Regions from separate parts of the Homo sapiens genome. Here all the other regions are linked to region 3. Evidence: promoter capture Hi-C in 16 types of primary human blood cells and fetal thymus (Javierre and others, 2016). All regions are on one chromosome and are shown on one strand. Each heading gives the region's core, a stretch centred on a gene start or on the middle of the fragment in contact. The rest is flanking DNA. Distances are from core to core; before and after follow the strand shown. Region 1 overlaps MEIS1 (Meis homeobox 1). Region 2 overlaps MEIS1 (Meis homeobox 1). Region 3 holds the start of MEIS1-AS2 (MEIS1 antisense RNA 2).

The links. The method cuts DNA at HindIII sites, captures the fragments that hold promoters and counts their contacts. A CHiCAGO score of 5 or more calls a contact.
Region 1: a fragment that was not itself captured here is called in contact with the fragment with the promoter of MEIS1-AS2 in region 3 in 1 of 17 cell types (megakaryocytes); the score reaches 5.4 in megakaryocytes.
Region 2: a fragment that was not itself captured here is called in contact with the fragment with the promoter of MEIS1-AS2 in region 3 in 1 of 17 cell types (megakaryocytes); the score reaches 6.6 in megakaryocytes.

What each region holds. Positions count from the first base shown.
Region 1 is chr2:66,549,950-66,552,971 of GRCh38, forward strand. The region is part of intron 9 of MEIS1 (Meis homeobox 1); the gene reads left to right. It overlaps LOC124900511 (a long non-coding RNA gene), which reads left to right. Exons shown (of 2, transcript XR_007086610.1): 1 at 1-3,022. Among named protein-coding and RNA genes, the nearest start is that of LINC01798, 23 kb to the right of the region's middle. RefSeq lists an enhancer at 1-37. The HindIII fragment of the contact is 8,417 bases long and covers 1-3,022 here.
Region 2 is chr2:66,522,777-66,525,702 of GRCh38, forward strand. All of the region lies in intron 8 of MEIS1 (Meis homeobox 1), which reads left to right. Among named protein-coding and RNA genes, the nearest start is that of LINC01798, 50 kb to the right of the region's middle. RefSeq lists an enhancer at 1-1,133. The HindIII fragment of the contact is 2,712 bases long and covers 20-2,731 here.
Region 3 is chr2:66,438,849-66,441,965 of GRCh38, forward strand. MEIS1-AS2 (MEIS1 antisense RNA 2) reads right to left here and starts at 1,482. Exons shown (of 2, transcript NR_046625.1): 1 at 1,377-1,482; 2 at 239-841. MEIS1 (Meis homeobox 1) reads left to right here. Exons shown (of 13, transcript NM_002398.3): 3 at 995-1,136; 4 at 1,714-1,764; 5 at 2,566-2,616. RefSeq lists an enhancer at 593-1,792. The HindIII fragment of the contact is 4,208 bases long and covers 205-3,117 here.

The DNA.
Region 1 (3,022 bases), core at 120-2,619, 110 kb after region 3:
GTTTTCTAAATTCTATGCACAGTCTCTGCCGGAGAGCAATCTTCCTAATCAGTCCATGATCACAATTCGACTTTCTCAGTTTTGTAACCAGAAGGGAGAGAAAGGATGTTTAAAAAGTTTTAATTCACACTCTAAAATAATTTTAAAGTATATGCAGACTTTACCCTAAACTTCACACTGCTATTCAATTCTGCACGGGTAAATAACTTAAAAATAGCTTTTAATTAGTTATTTGGGACAGAAACACAATTCTGTGCTTAACTGCCACTTTGTGCAGTGTGTGGTTTCTCTCTACTTGTATATATATGGAGTTAGAAGTGGCTTTTGCTTGCACCACAGTGCTTTGCATTTGGCAATTGTTTCAACATTTAACAATGTTGTTTGCTGTAGAAAATGTCCCTCAAGTAACTAAAAGTTGTAAGAGAGATTGTTTTTCTTTAGTTTGACAAATAATGACAATACCATGTTTGATTTGAATTTTTAATGGTTTATTAATTTTTATAGAAACCTCTTCCTGTTTTGTTTTGTTTTGTTTTGTTTTGTTTTGTTTTGTTTTGTTTTGTTTTGATACCGAGTCCTGCTCTGTTGTCCGGGCTGGAGTGCAGTGGTGTGAACATGGCTCACTGCAACCTCCAACTCCTAGCTCAAGTAATCCTCCTGACTCAGCCTCCCCAGTAGTTGGGAATACAGGCATATGCCACCATGCCCAGTTAATTTTTTTTTCTTTTGTTGAGGCAGGGGTTTTGCTATGTTGCCCAGGCTGGTCTCTAACTCCAGGGCTCAAGAGATCCACCCACTTCAGCCTCCCAAAGTGCTGGGATTACAGGCGTGAGCTACTGCACCCACTTATAAACATTTTTTATAAAAAATGTTTTTCATCTTAGCTATACTGAGCATCGGTACAAGTTATTTTCTACTAAAAATAATAATTTTGAAAATGTCATCATTAGTATTTCTGTGTTTCCCTTTCATTTATTTATCCACAACTTTTAAACATCTGTGTCTTCCTTCTTGGATTTCTTAAAACTTGTTAATACACATGTACATTTTTGTATGAACTATGAGTCACTGTTGAAATGCAATTCAATAAAATGCTGAAGGACAGGTTGAGTGTAGATCAGTCATAATTATTAGCAGTAACATAATGTATCAAAATATATAATATGTAAGTGAAAAATATAAACTCATGTCTAGTTGTTAGAGTGTCATAGAAATCCTGGCTGATGCAGTTTTAAGTTAGGCTTTGACTGAAAAATAGACAAGAAGTTTGCTACATTTTAATGGTTCTTTCACTTCATCACTGAACTAATTTTACATTTCTCGAATTGACAGTGATATATACTACCTGCCTCAGGTGGCTAAGGCTAAAGTACATGGGATTTGAGGGGAGAAAGGCAAAAGAGGAGAGAACTTAAAAGTAAAACAATAAGACTGATTTGATTAATTAAGAGAAAATCTGGAAAAAAGAAAATCTCGTTATAACTCTTATTTTGGTCCAATTGTCAGAATAAAAATGGAGAGAAAGAATCTTAAAATGGTTGGCATCAGTACTTACAGCATGTGGGCCCTAGGATGGAATGTGAAATTTATTAGATGTGACATTGTGGGCCAAGTCTATGCCAATAAATTTTTTGAGAATTGAGGCAATTATGTAAATAATTTGAGTAAAATATTTTTAAATAAATTATCTAAGTATTTGATGTGACTGCATATTTTTAAAAAATCAACCTCCATAACTAGTTGTCTAAATATTTCAATCTAGTATGTTGTGGTTGACTTAGATTTAAAAGTGTAATCATTTTCGAAACATAATATGCACCAGAGATTTATGTATTCTTCCTTCTTTGGTCCCTTGCTCCCAATTATAATTTTATCCAAAAATGATAAATAATAGCATCAGGGGCTTTTGTCTCTTTGCTTTTTTACTGTTGTTGTGGTTTTAACAAATACTTATGTTATATCAGCAGTGCAAACATTACCAATATGCAAATGTTTTAGTAATTTAAGTAGAAACATCTTAAATTTTGAGATTAGATGGTTGTTTAGACCTTTAAGTATTTAAGTAGAACTTTATGGAAGACACACACACACACACACACACACACACAATCAATACTTGGTTGTTTTTTCTCCTGAATAGACCAACTTAATTTTTTTATATTGAAAATGTGAGTGTAGAATGGTCAGATAAAAATTCCCTTATACATGATCACACCAGTGTTGCGGACCTGGGAATTCCCTGTGATGAAAACTTATCTCTTGTACTTGTGTCGTACTTACTGGATGCCTCAGTTGCCTCCTGCCTCAGCAGAGTTTTGGCCTAGGGTGTACTGAATACATTTTACAGTTTCTTTGTTTACTACTCCTCATCCAAACACTTTCCTATTAAGTTCTGATATTAAATGATTATCCCTTTATGCTCTGAGAAGGCAATATGGGTTTTAGGTGCAAAATATATAGTGTATGTGAAATACAGTATTTATATATAGAGAAAAATTATTCTCCATCAAGAGAGCATATAAAATTCCAGGTTCCATCCTAGCAGCCAAGATGACACTGTTCAGAACTATGGTACTCTACATTTCTTAGATTTAGTGCTCATACCAGATTTTCCTAGTTATTTCATTTATTGCTTTCAAAGCTGCAAAGCATTCAGGCATCACTTCCCATTTATTATGAGTGGGAAAAAAGTATGTTATCCTTGGAGATTTATGCCACTGGCAAGTAAAAATGTAAACTTATTTTTTAAAAATAAGATCTCCTTTATTATAATAAACAGATTCAGCTGTTAAAGGTCAAGTTTCTTTCTGAGTTATGGTAATAATATAGCAAATACTTTTACAAATAATCAAAGATTCTATAAATATAGGTACCTGTTTAGATGTAAATGTTAAAACATTCACAAATTATCCTTTCAACTTCTGTGATCTAAAAATCAATAGGGGTCATAGGGTTTCATAGAATTGTTCTGCTTTTTCTTCCAACATAATTTAATAATACATTTTACAGATGTTGTTTGAAT
Region 2 (2,926 bases), core at 126-2,625, 84 kb after region 3:
CTCTGGCAAGTCGGCTCAAAGCTTCTTCATTTATTTGTAAACAGAATATTTAGTGACCGCATAGGAAGTAGCTGTAATCACCAGCTCATAAAGAAACCACAGCAGAGCTTTTGGATTTTTGCAGAGTGCTCATGTAAAATTTAAGCTGGGAGGCAGAATCCCTGTTAATGTAATTAGGATCTAATTTACCACCCTTTGCACACAGATGTAATAATGTCTAGATATTTATTCTATCTTTAAGCATGTTACATATACCTCAGTGCAGCAGTTACTGAACAGAAACAGGTGTGAGCAGTTTCCTAATTCGTTTTTACACTGTAAACACATAGCAATTTAAGGGAAATATTTACCAAAAACGAGGGGAAAGAATGTCTGCAAATGAGGCAGTAATGGACAGTTGCCGTTTATGTACTGATGGATTTCTCAATGGTTAAGTAAATTAAAGCAAATGCTAGAAAAATCAATAGGCCAGCATAGTCTTGGTTTTGCCTCATAGACTTCAGGACAGAATGACAGATGTGGTGTCTATGACCCATTTAAGTATTAATGCTTGAAAAACTGCTTCTGCATGCAAGGTTGTAGGCTTAGAAACATTCTCCTATATTAAATTACAGACAATAATATTTTTAAGTATATGTGGAATTTATATGTTTCAGTTAGGTTGTTCTTATGTGTTACATTTATACTGGAAGATTAGTTGCTTAGTTGTTGCAATAGCACCATAAATCAGTTTTGAATGTTCCCACAAGGAAACATCTTCATAACGCTGTAGTTGGAAGGTGAAGATGATGTATTTTGAGCTGACGTGTATGTTGAAGTGAATATGCTCAACAGCACTCTATGTGGAAACCAAATTAAATTTAATTAAGGAGTAGATGCTCAGAGCCTTTGGAAAAAATCTGTAAAGTAGCATTCAAATGTGGCATTATAATTCAGTTAATCTCCAGGGCTACAAATGCTGTATTTTACATTTGAACTAACATGGGTAACATGTCACGTAGGTTGACTGTCATAGCGTGTGGAATTGTGGAGCTATTCTGATGTCCTAAGTGGTAGGTGTTAGCCTCTGAAAATGAGAAGGCAGACCTTATTTGGTAGCCCCTCAGAATGTTAAGTTTTCCACTCGTTGTTCCTATTTCTAAAAATTCATTACCAATTTCATGATAAATAATTTAAATACAGTCAAAATGTTGATTTGTTGACTACCAGAGATAGGAAGGCAAGGAGAGAAGCAAGGCCAAATGTACTTGCATGTCAGAGACCAAAATTTGCTCTTATGATCGAAATAAAATGAGGTTAAAGTTATTATCCTGGTCATTGGAGGAGAAGGTGCCTTTTGTTGGAGAGAAAAAGAGTTTTGCTGGCTTGAAGTGTCCTGTTTACCTTCTTGTGCTGTCTGAACTTAGACAATAATTGCTCAACTACCTTCCTTGCTCATGACAAAGCAGGCATGGTCCAGCCTGACTCTGGGTTTTGAAAATCAGTATGTAAAGGTAATATTGTGGCTAGGAGCAGTGGCTGTTGCCTGTAGTCCCAGCACTTTGGGAGGCTGAGGAAGGAAGACTGCTTAAGCCCCGGAGTTCAAGACCAGCCTGGACAATATGATGAAACCCCATCTCTACAAAAAGTTAAAAAATTAGCCAGGTGTGGTGGCTAATGCCTGTAGTCCCAGCTACTTGGGAGGAGGTGGGAGGATCACTTGAGCCCAGGTGTGTTAGGCTGCAGTGAGCCAAGATTGCACCACTGCACTCCAGCCTGGGCGACAGAGTGGGACCCTGTCTCAAAATGAATAAATAAATAAAATTTAAAAAATTAAAAAAAAAGGTGATATTGTGATAAGTCATATCATTGGAAACATTGCTAAGTTGGTATGATGAAAAGAAGTACAGTGATTATTTAGGTTCTAAATAGAAGCCTTTAAATTTTTTTTCACACAAGTATTTTACACAAATATTTCATGAAAATATTTACAACATTTCTCCGAACTTGTCAAATTTATCATGTGATTTAACAATGAACACATCTGGAGTTTTAACTGAGGTATAACAAGTAACTTTAAAAAAGTGAAAGTCTATCACCTGAAAAACTAGAAAATGAAAATTACTACAGAATTGAAAATTCTTTTGCTTCTTTAAAAACAGTGCTCCTTGGCTGAGCACAGTGGTTCATGCCTGTAATCCTAGCACTTTGGGAGACCAGGACAGGCAGATTGCTTGAGCCCAGGAATTCAAGACCAGGAATTCAATGGGCAACATGGTGAAACCCTGTCTCTACAAAAATACAAAACTTAGCCTGGTGTGGCGGGGCACGCTTGTAGTCCCAGCTACTCAAGAGGCTAAGGCAGGAAAATCGCTTGAGCCCAGGTGGTGGAGGTTGCAGTGAGCCAAGATCACTCCACTGCACTCCATCCTGGGCGGCAGAGTGAGACCTTGTCTCAAAAACAAACAAACAAAAAACAACAAACAAACAAACAAAAACAGTGCTCTTTAAGCTATGGCATGCATTTAAATTATCTGGATCTTTTTAAAAATGTAGATTCTGATTGAGAGGGTTGGGGCCTGAGATTCTGCATTTTCAGCAAGCTCCTATTGCTGCTGGTGCTGCTGGTCCACAGACTGCAGCTTGCATAGAAAGGATCTAAGGTACACAAGCAAGATGACAGATTTTAAATGGAAAGATGATTGTTTTTCTCTTTGATTTTTATACTTTGATTTTGCCCCCCTGATTTTGAAGCTTACCCCATTGTTTTTATCATATTAGTTTGACAAAATGTTTTATTTTTTCTCTGCCAACTTTCAATGTTTTTTAAGCATATAAGAAGTTCCTTTTGAATATCAAAGCACTTTCATTGGATCCCTCAAGTACTCTGAAAGCTTCTGATAGACGCAGGGCTCTGCAGAAAGACAGACTGTTTCTTCTGGGCTTG
Region 3 (3,117 bases), core at 232-2,731:
AATCTTTTTATTTTATTTTCTGATCCCTTGTGCGATGGGCTTGTTTAATTCCCACCGTTCTGTCCGCAGAGTTAACTACAAGTGGTTTAGGCTCTGGGACAGAACATTTGGGGAAGCTTTGTAAAGGACCCCAAACTGTTAAATTCCCAGCTGAGCTGTGAGAGCTAATAAAAGACTTGAGATACCTCCTTGGGCATTAGAAGAAGCTTTTCTTTCTTTCTTCTTCTTCTTCTTTTTTTTTTTTTTTTCTTTTTTATGGGCTGAGACAAGCGACATCTAGGCCCCTCGCAATACTAGCTGCTTTGCCACTTCGCAGAGACAAAATGAAAGGCTCTACTGCAGGAACATTTGAAGGAACTTTCTTTGGGGGGCGGTGGGGGCTATCAGCGAAGGGAGGGGAATGTGCGTGGAGCTGAGGAGGAGCCTCCCGGCTCTCCGAGGGCCTTGGGGTTGGGATCCCTAGGTGCAGCCCGTTGACAGTCGGCCCCACGGCCATGGACGTCCTTTCCCCAAGTTAGCTGAGCGCCTGCCACCGAGATCCCCCGAGCCTGGGCTTCGCGCGGCCGCCTAGGAGGAACCCGCAGGAACCAGCCCTCCCCAACTCTCCGCCCGGCGCCTTTCTCCTCCACCGGATCCTGGATGTGCAGTGGAGGGGACGAGGGCTTGTCGGGTGGGAAACTTAATTCAAAATGGCTGCTGGAAACGCTTGGGTTTTATTCGTAGCAAATGTTGCCAATTTCTCCGGCCAGATACGCTAAACCGATCCTCAGATACCGTCCATGGCTCAGGGCCTCCGACTTCAGGGCTCCAGGAGGAAGGGGAGGTGAGCGGTCACCTGGGTCTGGGGGAGGGGGAGGAAAAGGAAAAAAGTAGATGACACAATCGGAGAGGGGGTCTGTTCCTCTTGCTCCTCCAGCTGTTTTTCTTGGGCACCTTTTTCCATTGACTGGGGACTAACCATTATGTTGTTTGTGACTGTTGTATTTTCTTGCAGACACCCCCTCTTCCCTCTCTTAGCACTGATTTTTGAGAAATGTGAATTAGCTACTTGTACCCCCCGCGAGCCGGGGGTGGCGGGCGGGGACGTCTGCTCGTCAGAGTCATTCAATGAAGATATAGCCGTGTTCGCCAAACAGGTCAGCAAAATAGATGTTAAAAAGTAAAAGAAACAAAAAGAGAGCCCCCCCTTCGCCAACACACACGCGCGCGCGCGCGCGCGAACACACACACACACACACACACACGGCACACTTTCAAAAGTAGCCAGCACGTAGTCGGCCTTAAGCCATGCATGTTACCTCCAACCTCAGATTTTCTCTCTGTCTGAGTGTCTGTTTGCAGATAACTTAAAATCACCCATCTGCATCCCCACTCACCCTCCAGAAAGCAAACGTGGAGAGCTCACTCTGCAGAATAAAATCAAGAACACCACGGTTGTAGCTGCTGTGGACTCGGCGGTCTGAGCAGCCTCCCCGAGAGCCGTAGTTGCTAGTAGAAGTAAGATTGAGCTCTGGGCTTGTTTTCAGCTTATTTAATTCACACTGAAATGTTTCTGCGCGGGACGAACTCGGTGTCACCGGGTCCCTCCCGGAGGGTTACTTCCTGCCCCCGACAGTGTAATGAGGCAAGAAACTAGGAAGGCGACCAGATTTCAAATTTTTCTTTCTTTTTTCTCTCCCCTCCCTCTCCCCTCTCCTTCTCACTTGTATTTAGATTCGCGCAGAAAAACCTCTATTTTCTTCTAATCCAGAACTGGATAACTTGGTAAGAGCGGACCCCTATTTCCCTCCCCCGCCCCCGACCCCCTACCTCCCACCTCCAACGCCCTCAGCTTTGCTTTGAGAGCCCTGAGATTTCTAGACCGGTCTTCCCGTGCCTGCAGGTTGGCTGCAAATGTTTCTGTACACGGACAACTGGTCCGGGACAAGATCCCGGGGAAATAAATTCATCTCGAGAGGGGCCGGGCGAGCCAGCGCGGGGAAACGCGAGCTTTTGTTTTTTATGACAGCCGGGCTGCGCAGCTCTAATCAGCGCGGGGATTTATCTCCCGGCCTGTCAGCATGTGTGCTTAAACTTTGCGGACTTCCTAGCCCTCTAAGTCCCATCACGAGGGCAGCCACCGGACAAGAGCCCCCAAACAACCAGTTTGCCTGAAAGGTGTAAGGAAGGCAGCAGAAACTTTGCAATGGGAAAAGCCACAGTTTGAGGGCCATTTGGAATATTTTTCTGTCCACTCCTTCCAAGGACACATGTAGTCCAGTGTTGTGGCCCTTTTGGGGTGGGGTGGGGCCAGTGGGACTGAGAAAGGGGAGAGCCATGGGGGAGGAGAGTGTTTATGATCCTCACTTAGATGCTGTGTTGTTGTTTTAGCTAGTTTTTTTTTTCTTAAGAAATATAAACCTCTAGATGGTACCCAGTTGCTGCTATTAAGTTTTAGTGTTATTGCCATAAATCAAAATAACTCTATTTACTGGTGGGAGGGGGTGGGCTGGAGATGGTAGAGCTGTGGCAGCCAGTTTTCTGCAAGCCAGGAATGGGGTGCTTATTGTTTTTGTATCTTTGCAGATGATTCAAGCCATACAAGTATTAAGGTTTCATCTATTGGAATTAGAGAAGGTAATTTCTCTAGCCTCTTTTCCTTTTACTTACCCCTTACCCCCAAACACACAGGGGGGAGGGTTCCGAATGGCTGAAGTTCAGCCTTCTGATACATTTGCATAAATGTCTTTCTTTCTGGTAATTAGTGTCAAGGCCAATCTTAGCGTCCATTTCTCTTCGCAGTTTAATTACAATTTCAGCCACTAAAACTGGGATCACAAACGCCCTAGCCTTGTGTTCATTCTTAATAACTTGCTGGCTTTGTGTAAATAGTTGCAATTCTGTGCATCCCAGCTGATGTTTCGAATGCTGCTCTGAGGTTGTTTCACAAGTTCATACCTCTGTTGTCTCTTCTCATCCTCTTCCTTCTCTTCTTTGCTACCTCTGAGGGAGAAAAAAGTTTTATTCAGTTGTAGTGAGTTTCTGGAAGACAGTCTTGAGAGCAAGGGCAGATCAGACACAGGGGAGAGGCAGAAGGGGAGAAGGAGGAGGAGCGGGAAGGAGTCTGGAGGAGGTGGT